Linked DNA regions of Homo sapiens: all the other regions are linked to region 1. The links are contacts of gene promoters, found by promoter capture Hi-C in blood cells and fetal thymus (Javierre and others, 2016). All regions are on one chromosome and are shown on one strand. Each heading gives the region's core, a stretch centred on a gene start or on the middle of the fragment in contact. The rest is flanking DNA. Distances are from core to core; before and after follow the strand shown. Region 1 holds the start of SPATS2L (spermatogenesis associated serine rich 2 like). Region 2 overlaps TYW5 (tRNA-yW synthesizing protein 5). Region 3 overlaps LOC124906112 (a long non-coding RNA gene). Region 4 overlaps C2orf69 (chromosome 2 open reading frame 69). Region 5 overlaps LOC124906112 (a long non-coding RNA gene).

Region 1 (2,700 bases), core at 55-2,554:
CTTCCAAGGATTAAATGAGCTAGTACTTATAAAGCACTTGCTAATGTCTGTTAAATAAATTATATTATCCACACACCAATCCAAGGCGACTATAAGGTAGCAAGAACCACTCCAAGTCACATAAGAAAATGAATTCCTTTCGTTTTAGCTCCTCTCTTTATTTCAGCAGTGCGTTGTCAACAGGGCCACATTATGTTAGCAGATTTGAACTTTATCCGAAAGGTGTTTGTATTTTATTTCAAATTATGAATTCCTGAACATCGGATTATGTACGATTCTGCAGTGCCCTCGGAGGCCCATTAGAGTCTGGAGCTCGAGAAGCATAACAAACTCTGGTCTGATATTTGTAAGGAGCTTGACAGCCAAGGAGCCACTCAGAAACAGTTATTGGTATTGCCAAAAAAAAAAAAAAAAAAGGAAGCTAAGAAGTCACCCTTCTAAATAAATAAATAAATAAATAAATAAATAAAAACCTGAATTGGAGAGCTGCCTGCATTTCACTCTACTGCCTCTGGAAGAAGAGTGTTATCTAAAGTGCTTCCATCATGAATAATGATTGAGAAACTGCTTTTACTCTCCCGACTACTGTACTCCCAGGCAGAAACCCACGGCTGAAGCCCACGATGCCCATGTGTAACTTGGTTATTACACACACGTTTGGAGCCCAGTGTGCAGACCCGCAGCGCAGAGGAGGCGGCGGAACACCCCGGGTTGGTCGGGTTTCCAAGGGCTGACCCGAGCTCCAGCACTTTTTCCGCGCCTGATTTTTCAGGTCATTTTCGAATGGGCTATCTTTGCTTACATTTTGAGCTTGGATCCTCTCCAGAAAGCATTACTACCTTCTAAAAGGAAAAACATCTCGTATTTGCAGACAGTGCTGAGGGAGCAAAGTTCATTTTCTCGGGTAGGAGAAGATGATTCTCTTGCAACACGTGCGGATTGTGACAAAATCTTTCATTAACAAGGGGAGTTTCGGTGAAGTGGAGGTTTGGGGAAAGGCGAGGAAGTCGGTCTGGAGCAAGCAAGCAAAGTGCGGAAGCTGTACTGGGATTCTTCTAGAAAGTGGGGTGGGAAAGGAGCTAGGGAGGGCGTGTGGAGGGACGAGATCTGTGTCAGAACGTGCGTGTGAGCGGATACAAAACCCGAGAGAGGCGTGAGCAGCGCTGTGTTTGCGAGCGGGAGCGAGGGGCGCCGGCTGGGGTGTGTGCTCCTGGTGAGTGACACCGAGGGGAAGGCGGGCGGGTCGGCGGGCGGGGGCAGCCTGCGAGGGGCGGGAGTGTCCCTGCGTGGGGCGGCCGAGCCGGAGTTGTGTCAGTGAAGGAATCCAGTCCGGGGGCCGAGCTGGCTGCGCCCTCCGCTGCAAGCGCCGGCAGCGCGGGGCGAGCTCCGGACGGCGCGCGGCCCAGGCAGCGGCTCCCGCTCGGCCCGCCCTCCGAGCCGCAGGGGCCGCCACCGCCGCGGCGCCTCCCCTGGCGACCGCGCCCCCGGGCCCCGGCTCCGGCCCGGGACGGAGGAGCCGGCGCTCGACACAGAGGTAAGCCCAGGACCCCCTCCACGCCGGGCCGGCTGGGGATGCAGGGCGCGGGCGGACGCGGAGGGGCCTGCGCGGCCGGGACGGAGACTCGGCTGGGCCGAGCATTCCGCAGCCCGGGCCGCCCAGCCTCCGCCGCCTCCCGGAGCGCTGGGTGTGGCCCGCGCTCGGCGCCGAGGCGGGCTGGTGGCGCGGACCGGACGCGAAGGTCGCCGTCCTTCCTTTCTCCAGCCGGCGCGGGCAAGCGGGAGGAGGCGCCGGCTGGGACGCACAGTGGCGCTCCCCGGGCGAGCGTGTGGCCGCCGCGCTCCGACGTGTACCCGCCCGCCCCGGATCTGAATCGCCCGCGGCCGCCGTCCCTCGCCTGCCGTCCTCCCGCGCGGGCGCCCCCGTTCCCTCCCAAGCCGGAAAGAGACCCACCGTCCCCCAGGCTGCTCTCTGGCCCGGAGCCGCAAAGCCCACGTCAGCCGCGACCACCCCGCCCTCGGATCCCAGCCGGGTGCGGGGGCCGCGGCCCCACTGAACCCCGCGCCCCTGGCGCCCAGCGGGAGTGGGATGCGTTGGCGTCCGCGCTGCGCGGGTGGGCTGGGGTGGCCGGAGCAGACGCGGAGCGCCCTGGCCGCGGGACGAAGCGGTCGCGCCGCCGCATTTGGGCGGGGGGACCCCGGAGTCCGCGGGCTGCGGACCCCAGCGGGAGACGGGGTTGTCGTAGGATGCGCTCGCGCTGGACGCCGGCGCACTCTGAATATCATGCTGCCGCACACGCGGGGCTGAAGGGCCGAGTCTTCACCTGCGCGGGGATGCGGCGGAAGCGTCGCGTCTTCGCGAGTGGAGGTTTCGTGTTCCCGCGGGGTTGGTGTGTTTTTGAACTTCACGAGCTTCTCATCCCCCCCGCAATCCTGGTTTTAGCAGATGTCGGGGTTTTGGAGACCTGACACTTTTCGTGAAAGATTCTTTCTGTACGTTTTCTTTTGGCTATATTACAGGGTTTGTAGCTTGAGAACTAGTGAAAACCCTTGAACTTCAAACACAGTCTCATTGCTTATTTTTTGAAATTTAAATATTAAAATATGTACCAGCCCCCTCACAAGCCGACAGACTTTAAGACAAACGACTGTGAAATTTTAGAACCTGTGCAGAGAAAGTGGTTTTATACCAGTACTTGAAAT
Region 2 (2,700 bases), core at 13-2,512, 370 kb before region 1:
CAGTGCAGTGAGAAATTTTGTTGGCAGAGGAAAAAAATTCCTTTTTGCATCAGGTCAAGCCCCCAAACTAGCCAAAGAAAAGCTGTGTAATCTATTCAGAAGTACTGGAGATGTGCTGCACATTAGGGAGAATGGAGAATTACTGGTCACAACGAATCCCGGTTTCTATCACCCATAGCTATGTGAACCCAGACAATCATTAAGCAATCTGGGTTGGTTAGATGGCTTCTAAGATCTCTTTCAATAAAAAAGTTCTAAGATTCAGAATTCCTGAGAAGTTGCAGCTAACATACACTGTATAAGATTTTATACATTAAAAACAAACATCTCATTTGGTCTTAACCCAGTAGGAAGAAAAGATTAAAATATTTTGTATTTGAAATAAACAGACCCTAATATTAATTATGACCAGGGAAATAATTTTAAAACATCCCAAAGGAAAGTTCTCTAACTTTTAAAATATTATAAATTAATACTGCAACAGGAGCTACCTCAAATCTCTCAACAAAGATGGAATATAATTAAATAGAAGAACTAGCACCAGTTATCAACTATGTGCCTGCCCTTGAACTCTCTGCATTTTTGTAGTTCTGTTTTAAAGATGAGGAAAATAAGCTTCATAGATAAATGTTATTTTGTCTAAGGTCATCCAGTTTGCTTCTCCATTAAACAATCAATTAAGATGACTATTCAGTGCACAAACTGTAATCTGTTTTATTAATACTTCCAAGTTTTCTACATGACTCTGGATTTATACTTTGTATCAATTCTCTTGCTGGTTAAGAAAAAAAACAAGATTTATTAAAAACTGACCATAAATAATGTGTAAACTAAGGAGAGTTTTGTCTTTTTCCTTACTGAAGGACAAGGAATCAGTAAAGAAGTTCTTTGCTTTGCTTAATGAAGATCAAAACCTGGTAATTAAATTTGGCTAATATAATCATTCCTTTTCTGACAAGACTTTTTTCACCTTTATTCACCTGAGTAACTTACCTGTTTCCAAAGACACCTAGGAAATTCAGAATGTTATATATGCTTTTCCTTATTTACTATAATTTATAGGACATGAGTGGATGGATTCTCTTCAATAGAGAAAATGATTTTCTCTAATTAAAATGCACCAAATTGATGTACTAAGAGATTGCTTTAGATGAACACATTTATGTTCAGTGAAGATTATGTGGTCTTCAATGACACTGCAATATAATTACTAGGTACAAAACAAAAGCAGAGATCCACACACAATGGCTCACTGTCTTCGATGACAACACTTTTAGGATCTCATTTATTCATTCTTTAAGTAATTTTTCTTTTAAAAAAGGGATAGGTGGAAAAAATAGTTGGGAAATCTTTAACTAGGCTAAGGTTTAGACATAGGTATAAATTATTTATTTTGTAACATTCAAAAACCAAAAACCACCCTGACATACTGGGTGGCAAGAAAAGTCAAGATCAGATTAAACATTTGTTTTGCACTAATCACAAAACTAATAATCCAAGTCACTATCATCAACTCCAGTTGATCTCAGCTCTGATTATGCATCAGAACACCCTGTGAGGTCTATTAAGTTCCTATACCAAATCCCAAACACTCTTGAATCAGTCTACAAAGTTGGGACCTAGGTATCTGTACATTTTTTAAAGTTCCTCAAAAAATTCTGCTTCTAGGCAAATGTAATAGATATTGTGCGTTGCTCATGTTTTTCCTATCAGAACCATGATTTTAAAAAAACTATCCTTTCTGTCCCCATATATCCCTCATGTGGCCTCCACTTCTACTCTCAGCTCCAGTGGACCTGACTGCCCTAAAGGTTATTCTAGACCCTTTGCCAGTGACTGGCTCAGGGATGGACAGGTCTAAGTTACTTTAGAGCAATGAGACCTAAGGATATGGAAAGTGAATTCTGGGAAAGCTTTCTCATACTAGGACAGGGCCCCTAGAATCCAGCCTGACTCTTCCGCTGCATGTAAATGAAGATGCACAAGGCTCCAACTGCTACTGGCAATCATCCCATGACCACGAGGGTAGCCAGCCTTAGGATGATGCCAATGTTGTGGTTGAAAAGGGGGTGGGGTGTGGAGGCGGGTTCCCAAGGTTCTTGATGACATTACTGAATCATTGGATCAGAAACACTGCAGCACATTCTGTCAATAGATTTCATGTATTGTGAATCAATATATTTTCTTACTGTTTTTAAGTCATTTTAAGTTGGACTTTTAGTGGTCAGCATCTGAATGTTAAAGAGTGGTCCCAGCACAGCATTCTTTAATTATAACAATCTGTATCAAGTAGAATCCACACAAACACCCCTTCGTACTTACATAATCTGTAAATCTGATGTATCTTTCCTATTTTAACAAAATCTTTAATTTATATCGTTATACCTTACTAAAGTGTTAATGTGCATTGCATTCACTTCATTATTTACTCAGAGTTCTTGCTGTAGGCTTTGTCTTGAATGTGTAGGACCATTCGTCGTGCATAGAAGTCCCTATATTCCTCTGGTAACTCGGCCAGTGTTTTCAAGGCTCTGTCCAGAATTTGTGCAGCTCTTGATGCTGCTGTAGGATCTTTGTTTCCATAGGTATCTGTTTTATCATAGCATTCAGATGGAAGGTGCTTCCAAAAGATATTCACTCCCACTCCAAACTCTTCAGAAATTACATTATGGAACCATAAAGCTGGAGAAAGTTTAAAAA
Region 3 (2,700 bases), core at 84-2,583, 280 kb before region 1:
TCCTGGGAATACTCTGTATCAGGGTTTAAAAATTATTTCACAAATGGAAAATTGTATCCTGCAGGCAAACAACAGAACCAGCAATTCTGAGAGCAGGGGACTCGTGCAGCTGTTCCACAGGTCTTTAATTATTCACCCAGCCTGTCACCCCATTTCCAGCTCCTTTTAATTCCAACTATTGTTGGTTTTAGGATTTCAAAGTTCGTCTGGAAAACTAACTTTCTTCCTTCCTTCTTTTCTTCCTTTTAATCTTTTATTTTCTCTCTCTCTCTTTTTTTTTTCTTTTTTTCTGTTCAACTACATGGGTTGCAGATTCTTCAGCTTCGGGGAAATATGTCATTTGCTTTATATATTCCAGAAATTTTTTACTTGCTTGAAGATGCCCTCTTGGTTTTCAGTAATGCAATAGGTTTGTTCTTATTTTGATATTACTTATGATATTTTGACGGGATTTGGAAAAGAAAGTGAGAGAAATATATATGTGTGTGTGTGTATATATATATGTGTGTGTGTGTGTGTGTGTGTATATACACACACACCAATATGTATATATTTGGTTACAAAATTTTAGTCTGAAGTTTTCAGTTTAAATTTGATCCCTGCATTTTTAAGTCACAGTCATGAGTTCAAGTTAGAGTCCTTCCCTAAAATCTCTTCCACACTGTTAAGACCCACAACCTTCCCTCCCTCATGGGCCCACTCAGAGCAGTCGTGACAGAGGGCAAACTCTTATTTAAAATGTAGGTTAACTATAGCCATTTCTGCCCCCCTTGACGCCCCTAAGGATGGGTGGCAGGATTCATACCCCTGGGAAAAAATCTGATCCAGTTCTCTTGTAGAGACTGATGAGGAAGTAGGTGATCAATTGTCCAACAGCTAGTGAGTGTTTGGTTCTACCAAGGGAGTGCTGCAGCTGCATTGACGAAACCTAGATTGCTTTGCATAGTAACATGGGGTAGATTACTGATAAGCAGTGAAAAAAGTAGAGGGCTGAAATACATGACAGAATGCTGTGGCCTGAATTGTTGGAAATAGTTAAAAGACTTTTAAAAATATAGAAATCAAACACTTTTTACCTATTAGCTCTTCTTTGATGTGGGTCCCCTTCTTCTCACCAATGTTTGAGTGGAGTTTGCTGTACTCAACACGCCCCTTTTTTTTAGTGGGGGTATTTCTGGTTTCGTATGGAACACAGAAAAGGCAACAATTGTGGGGCAAAAATAAAAGTGAAAATAAGATTTCAGGGGTAACAGAAACTAAGATTCAAAAATGACATTGAGTATGGGAACTTCTGGGACTCTTCAGGACGTAAATATTGGGAAGGAAAAGAATGTAGAGTTTCCCCTGACATCTGGGTTACATATTTCTTATTGAACTGTCATTTAATTGCTTGCGTGTGCACATGTTCATTATAAACTTAGGTGTGGGAAGTACTTTTTGTGGTGTGCATCTATCTTTTTGCTGCCCATGAGTCTAGCAGGGCAGTGCCTACATAAAATGCTTTCATTAAATAATTTTAAAATCACTTAAAATATTTTTTGCTGATCCATTCATATCTCTACTTCTTCTTTGTGAAAAAAGATCTATTTTTGTAAGATACGTGGTTGGAGTAAGAGCTAAGGCTTAAAGGCAGATTGGCCTGTCTGAGGGTTAAATCCACAACAAATCTACCTTACAACCAGGTATTAAGGCACTGAACATGTTTTATTTTAATGAAACAAGTAAAAAAGTACACAAATACACACTGTAGAAAGCACAACCAAGAAAGTGGGTTAAGATATGATTTACCTGTTTTGTTTAATAATCATTGATTTTCCAATTCATATAAGATAATGACATAGCTCTAGAAATGTATGCCTGTTTTTGTTTTTGTTTTTGCCTGCCTAGAATCCCTTCCTCTTTCTTTGGGTAAATAGTCATTTGGTTTTCCTTTGAGCAACCATCTGCTGTCTATTGCAGATTTGGTTGTATTTTCGATCAACATGTCCTCCTTCCCTGGGCCAAGACTCCAGCCATGCCAGTCAGACTCCTCCTGCAGTTTGAATGCTAGGCCAACTAACGGAAGGATTAGAGTTAATTCATTTCTCCCATGCTGCCCTCAATAGAGTATTCATCAGTTTCTGCTACCAAGATCCTAATCAGAGCTGTCCTGATTATTGTCCTTTCTGAACCTGGGTTCTTTAAATTCTTTTTTTTAATCCAGTTTTCTGAGCTACTGAAATCCAGTCCAGTAAGTTCCCTTTTTTTGTTAAAGTCAACCAGACTCAGTTTCTGTGGCCTGCAACCAAAGAACTCTGACAGATACAGCTCCTATACAAATGGTCTGTTTAGATTTTCTATAAATATTTGATAAATTAATAAAGAATTTGGCTGGCAATAGCTACTCAAATAAAGATTGGCTTCCTCAAACAATAACATTTATTAAGTCACTGGTTATTGTGGTATTCCATCAAAAAGGACTCGGTATTATCCAAGGCTTCATGAAGGAACGTAAAAGGGGAGGGACTCGCATGTTTCTTTACCTCTAGAGCATGTATGTTGAAGGAGGAACGGGGCACATACAAATCAAAACTTGTTGAGTTCCTTCTCTATTTTTGTTTGATCCTTTAGTGACATGTACTACAATGGTACAAGGACTAGAACTAAAGTCCCATAGCATGCTTGCTTTGACATCTGAAGAAAACAGGACAGGCCTCAGAT
Region 4 (2,700 bases), core at 165-2,664, 390 kb before region 1:
TCTATTATATAAAATATATATTATATAAAATATATATTATATTATATAAAATATATATTATACTATATATAAAATATACTATATAATATATATAAAATATATATATATTTTTATAATATGTATTATTTTCTTTTGCCCTCAAAATAATTGACTGGTTTAGTTGACTGCTAATAAAAACTGGAGAAAAAAAAAGAGAATAAAGAAAAAAACAACTACTACTTAGATTTAAGAGAAAAAAAAGCCACTTACTTACTTGGTGCCCTTGTGGCTCAGATTGGGAAAATAACATGTGACATTTCCGACTATGACTGCCAGAATAATTTTGTGGAACAATTACTGCATGCATTCCTAAAATAATGATGATGATAATGATTACATTTATTGAGCACCTCCTAAGTGTTTTTAAAGTGTGCCAGCCAGGATATATAGTACAAGTCTTCAGAGGAAGTCTAAAAAGTCTTACATACAGTTTGAGGCCAGATTGCCTGGGTTTGAACCCTGATTTAGAACTTTTTAGGTATAAAGTCCCTGGACAATTGTTACATCTCTCTGTGTTTCAGCTACTTCAACTACAAAATAAGAATAATAGTTTATAAGGTGTCAATGGAGATTAAATGTGTGGATACTAAATGAGTTCTGGTCCCTTCTTATCTCTCTGGTGACTTTAAAAATTATTGGAGTATCCTAGTCGTCTGTTCTTCCATGTTTCCTCTGTCTGTGTTCACTCCCTTCAGTCTCATGGCTTTACTCACTACCTGTACACTGACACCCCTCAACATTTATGTATCTAGCCTACACATATTCCCCAAACTTTAGGCCAACCAATTATATGCACGATTATTTCCTTTTGGATATTTAATAGATATCCTAAACCTAAAATCTCTGGATCTTTACCCCTATGCAGTCTTCCTCATGTCATTAATGGAAACTTTACCTTCTTAGTTGCTCAAGATAGAAATCTTGAAGTCATCCATTAGAACTGTCTTTCATACCTCATTTCATCAAATCTAGTGGTTTTACCTTTTCAGTGTATCTAAAGTAATCAGAATAACCATTGAAAAATGTAAGTCAAATCATTCCACGTCTGCTCAAAACTGTGCAGTCACTTCCCATGTCACTCAGAGTAAGAGCCAGAGTCCTTCCTGTTAATATCCTGTCCTGCAAGGCTTTTCATTATTTCTATCTTTTCCCACCCTGTTACCTATCTGACTTGGTCTCCTTTTTCTGTTTACTCTTCTCCAGCCTCTCTGGCTTTCTTGGTGTTGCTCAAACATGTCAGGCACACTATACCTAAAAAGCTTTCTGTATACTGCCTGGAACAGCCTTCCAAGTAGATGACTTGTAGGTTTATTACCTCACCTCTTCCAGGTCTGCTCAAGACTCTGCCTCTCTGAGGCCTTTTCTGACCATCCTGTTTAATAATCATAGTATATATAGGCTTCCTATCAACTTTTCTTCTTTATTATTACCCATTGCATTTACTATACTAGTTTTCGTTTTGAGTTTTGTTTGCCTTCTGCCACTAAAATATAAGCTTACGTTTGTTCACCGATATAATCTGCGATGCTTGAGAGTTGCATGTTTTAGGTGTGCAGTAGATGACTTGTATAAATGAGTATTTTTTAATTGCTTTGAACAATGCATGAAATACTTGAAATGTGTTGGCTATTATATAAAATGCTGTTAGGCTGATTTCTTCATCTGTATTTTTGTACTTGATTCTTTTGAGCCTAATATCTATCCTTATGAACTTTTCGCTGCTGAGTACAGCCCATCTTTTTATTGTGTTGATGCTTTTAGAATGCCTATAGACATTCTATTTTCTTTATTTTCTTTTATTACTATTTTTTAGAGAGACAGGGTCTCACTATGTTGCCCACTCCTGTGTTCAAGTGATCCTCCTGCCTCAGCCTTTTAAAGTGTTGGGATTACAAGCATGAGCCACCACACCTCGCTGAGCATTCTTGTTATAGCTTTATTCTTAATTTGAAGAAATATTGAACAGAATAGGGCTAAACAGAATTTTGTAAGATAGTATTAGAAGCTTTGCCTATCTTTTTTTTTTTTTCCTTGAGATGGAGTCTTGCTCTGTTGCCCAGGCTGGAGTGCAGTGGCGTGATCTTGGCTTACTGCAACCTCCACCTCCCAGGCTCAAGCGATTCTCCTGCCTCAGCCTCCTGAGTAGCTGGGACTACAGGAGCATGCCACCACGCCTGGCTAATTTTTCTTTTTTTTTGTATTTTTAGTAGAGATGGGGTTTCACCATGTTGACCAGGCTGGTCTCAAACTCCTGACCTCAGGTGATCCTCCCACCTCAGCCTCCCAAAGTGCTGGGATTATAGATGTGAGCCACCGCACCTGGCCTGAAGCTTCACCTATCTTGATACTGTTTCATTATTTGGTGTTTGTTAATTGGAACTGGTTTTTCATATGATTTTAAGTCCTCTTAATTCCTATTAACTTCTTGATGTTCCTTTTGCAGTCATGTTTTGTTGTATGTCCTTTTTAAAAATTCTGTACTTTTCCTTTATCATTTGAATTACAAGAAAGCTAAGGCCATATATATTAGTCCATTCTCACACTGCTAATAAAGACATACCCGAGGCTGGGTAATTTATAAAGGAAAGAGGTCTAATTGAATCAGTTCCACAGGGCTGGGAGGCCTCAGGAGACTTACAATCATGGCAGAAGGGGAAGCAA
Region 5 (2,700 bases), core at 159-2,658, 270 kb before region 1:
ACTTGGCTAATTTTTAAATATTTTTGTAGAAAAGGGGTCTCGCTATGTTGCTCAGGTTGGTCTCAAACTCCTGGGCTCAAGCAATTCTCCGGCCTCGGCCTTCAAAAGTGCTGGTATTACAGGCGTGAGCCACCACACCTGGTTGACTGCTGCAGTTTTAAAAGTAATATGTTTTTATCTCCAATATGTGTGTGATATATTATTTTACACAGTCAAAGTCATGGTGTATCCATTGTTCTGTATCCTATTTTCACTTCCCCTCTGCCTTTGAAAATATTTGTCAACATAATTTTTAATGGCTGCATAATGTGCCATAGAATATGGTAGATGTATATAGTTTAAAAATCATTCTCTCGTTGCATATTTTGGTGTTATAAACAATGTTACAATTAACATTCTGTCTATGGTTTATACTATTTCCTTCAGAGAGATTTCTAGGAATAAAGTGACTGGATCAAAACATCTGAGTAAATACTTGTAACCTTTTTACCTTTCGTTTTAAAATTGCTGTTCAGAAAGATTGTCCAAATTTAGACTCTCAACATAAGGTATAAATATACTTATTTTATCAAATTATCCCCAGTATTATCATTATTTAAAAATCACTATTAATCTGATAGTTGAAAAATAGAGGCTGGAAATGGGTGGGTGTGCTTGGGAGCCTTAGTGCCTGGGTTCAGAGGTCAGTCCTGCCTATAATCCCTGTCTTTTGGGAGACCAAGTCAGGAGGATCACTTGAGGCCAGGAGTTCAAAACAGCCTGGGCAACATAGCAACATAGGGAGACCTCATCTCTACAAAAGTGTTATTATTATTATTATTATTATTATTAGCTAGGCATGGTGGTGTGTGCCTGTAGTCCTAGCTACATGGGAGGCTGAGGTGGGGGACTCGCTTGAGCCCAAGATTTCAAGGCTACAGTGAGCTATGATCACACCACTGCACTCCAGCCTGGACAAAAGAGCAAGACCCAGTCTCAAAAAACACAACAAAACAACAAAAAATAAAAATAGATTATTAGTGTACAGGTTGAGTATCTTTTATCTGAAATGCTTGGGACCGGAAATATTCTGGATTTTGGATTGTTTTGGATTTTGGAATATTTACAAATACATAATGAGATATCTTGGGGACGGAACCCAAGTCTACACATGAAATTCATTTGTGTTTCATATACACCTTGTACACAGAGCCTGAGCATAGTTTTGTACAATATTTTAAATAATTTTGTGCATGAAACGAACTTTTGACAGTGTTTTCTGGGACCCACCACATGAGGTCAAGTGTGAAATTTTCCACTTGTGGTGTCCTGCCAGCACTCAAAAAGCTTTCGATTTTGGAGCATACAGAATTGTGGATTTTCAGATTAGGGATGCTCAACTTATATTTCACATTACACTTCTTTGATTACTAGTGAATTGAAAGAAATTTAGAAGCCAGGTTAGCAGTTATTGTTTCCAGCAATAATGGGTACTACAATGTTTAACACGTACAAGCTTTCTGTATGTAATTTCCTTTAAGACCTCCCCTTGCTGCTGAACAGAAGGCCATGATGGATTCTGCAGCCCAATCTCTGCCATATGTTTGGTGCTTATTATTAAGCCCAACTACTGAGCAAAGAAAGACGTAATTAGCCTTTTTGGGAATTAATTTAAGCCTTCAGCAGTAAAAAAAAGGCCTAAAGTTGATTTATTTCCCAGAATTTATTTGTATTTGATGTCTTTTTAAGTCTAGGCAGACTAAATGACCAGGCATGGTTTCAGCCTTCTACAAAGGAGTTTCTTGAGTTCTAGGAGACAGTCAAAAATAATTGCCTTAGTGCCTTTGCACATCTCTAAGATACCAGTTGAAGACAAATGATTGAGTTATGTGAAAGGAGAGAACCACTCGGGCACTAACAGAGGCAGCACAAGTTGAATTTATCTTCAATTACCAGCAGGTGAGATGGAGGCACTGAGTTCTGAGTTGAGAGCTGTGGCTCAGCTGAGGGAATTTGGCCTTTGCTGCTAAGGTGAAAATTAGTAGGAGAAGGTGCTCTCTGTAATAAAGATGTTTGTTCCTTCATGGGACTGACTTAATCAAGAAAGTTGCTTCTGTCAGTAATGATCCTAGGCCAGATTTAAATATGTGCTTCCAGAACAAATGCAAGTTGTCTGATTCTAAAGCCATTCTACACATTATTGTGCTCCCAAAGACTTTATTGTTATGCAATGATAGGAAAAGATTTTTACCCCCAGAGCACTTGGAAGCACATTGCAATTCCCAGCCTTACTCTCCACCCAAATTGTTGCCCAGATGATTTTGCTCATTTGGGCCGTTATTCATTGATGGCGCATTTGGAAACAAAATCCTGAGGTTGTCACGGGTCTGCACGTATTTACATAGTTCTCAAATGCCAAAATGATAAACACTGTGCAGATGTTCCATAGGACAGTAACCCAGTCTGCCTTTGGCAGTTTCACACGAGAACGACTAACCACATCAGCTCTGGAAAGAGACACCACAGCATGAGCTCACTGACTTTTCTTTTCATGAAAAAGTCAGGGACCAAGATTAATTAAAACCAGGAGCTTGTTACTTTTAAAGATAGCATAATGATAACCATTCTGAAATGTTCCTCATTCTTGCAACCCCAGCACTTTAGGGGAAGCCAGAAAGTGAGAATATAAAAAATGCCTGATGGAAGTCTGTAGCCAGAGGC

Evidence for each region. Contacts are between HindIII fragments. The CHiCAGO score rates a contact against its expected background, and 5 or more counts as called.
Region 2: a contact is called between a fragment that was not itself captured here and the fragment with the promoter of SPATS2L in region 1, in 1 of 17 cell types (M1 macrophages). The highest score is 5.6, in M1 macrophages.
Region 3: a fragment that was not itself captured here is called in contact with the fragment with the promoter of SPATS2L in region 1 in 4 of 17 cell types (M1 macrophages, M2 macrophages, naive CD4 T cells and 1 more); the score reaches 9.0 in M1 macrophages.
Region 4: a contact is called between a fragment that was not itself captured here and the fragment with the promoter of SPATS2L in region 1, in 1 of 17 cell types (M1 macrophages). The highest score is 5.3, in M1 macrophages.
Region 5: a fragment that was not itself captured here is called in contact with the fragment with the promoter of SPATS2L in region 1 in 2 of 17 cell types (M1 macrophages and erythroblasts); the score reaches 6.8 in M1 macrophages.

The regions. Positions count from the first base shown.
Region 1 is chr2:200,305,389-200,308,088 of GRCh38, forward strand. SPATS2L (spermatogenesis associated serine rich 2 like) reads left to right here and starts at 1,305. Exons shown (of 13, transcript NM_001100423.2): 1 at 1,305-1,534. RefSeq lists an enhancer at 680-779 and silencers at 1,190-1,919, 1,940-2,269. The HindIII fragment of the contact is 4,184 bases long and covers 1-2,700 here.
Region 2 is chr2:199,930,642-199,933,341 of GRCh38, forward strand. It overlaps TYW5 (tRNA-yW synthesizing protein 5), which reads right to left. Exons shown (of 8, transcript NM_001039693.3): 8 at 1-2,682. The coding sequence ends at 2,426. Among named protein-coding and RNA genes, the nearest start is that of C2orf69, 21 kb to the left of the region's middle. The HindIII fragment of the contact is 1,298 bases long and covers 614-1,911 here.
Region 3 is chr2:200,020,727-200,023,426 of GRCh38, forward strand. All of the region lies in intron 1 of LOC124906112 (a long non-coding RNA gene), which reads right to left. Among named protein-coding and RNA genes, the nearest start is that of MAIP1, 66 kb to the left of the region's middle. The HindIII fragment of the contact is 2,955 bases long and covers 1-2,700 here.
Region 4 is chr2:199,913,453-199,916,152 of GRCh38, forward strand. The region is part of intron 1 of C2orf69 (chromosome 2 open reading frame 69); the gene reads left to right. Among named protein-coding and RNA genes, the nearest start is that of C2orf69, 3.5 kb to the left of the region's middle. The HindIII fragment of the contact is 236 bases long and covers 1,297-1,532 here.
Region 5 is chr2:200,037,560-200,040,259 of GRCh38, forward strand. All of the region lies in intron 1 of LOC124906112 (a long non-coding RNA gene), which reads right to left. Among named protein-coding and RNA genes, the nearest start is that of MAIP1, 83 kb to the left of the region's middle. The HindIII fragment of the contact is 169 bases long and covers 1,325-1,493 here.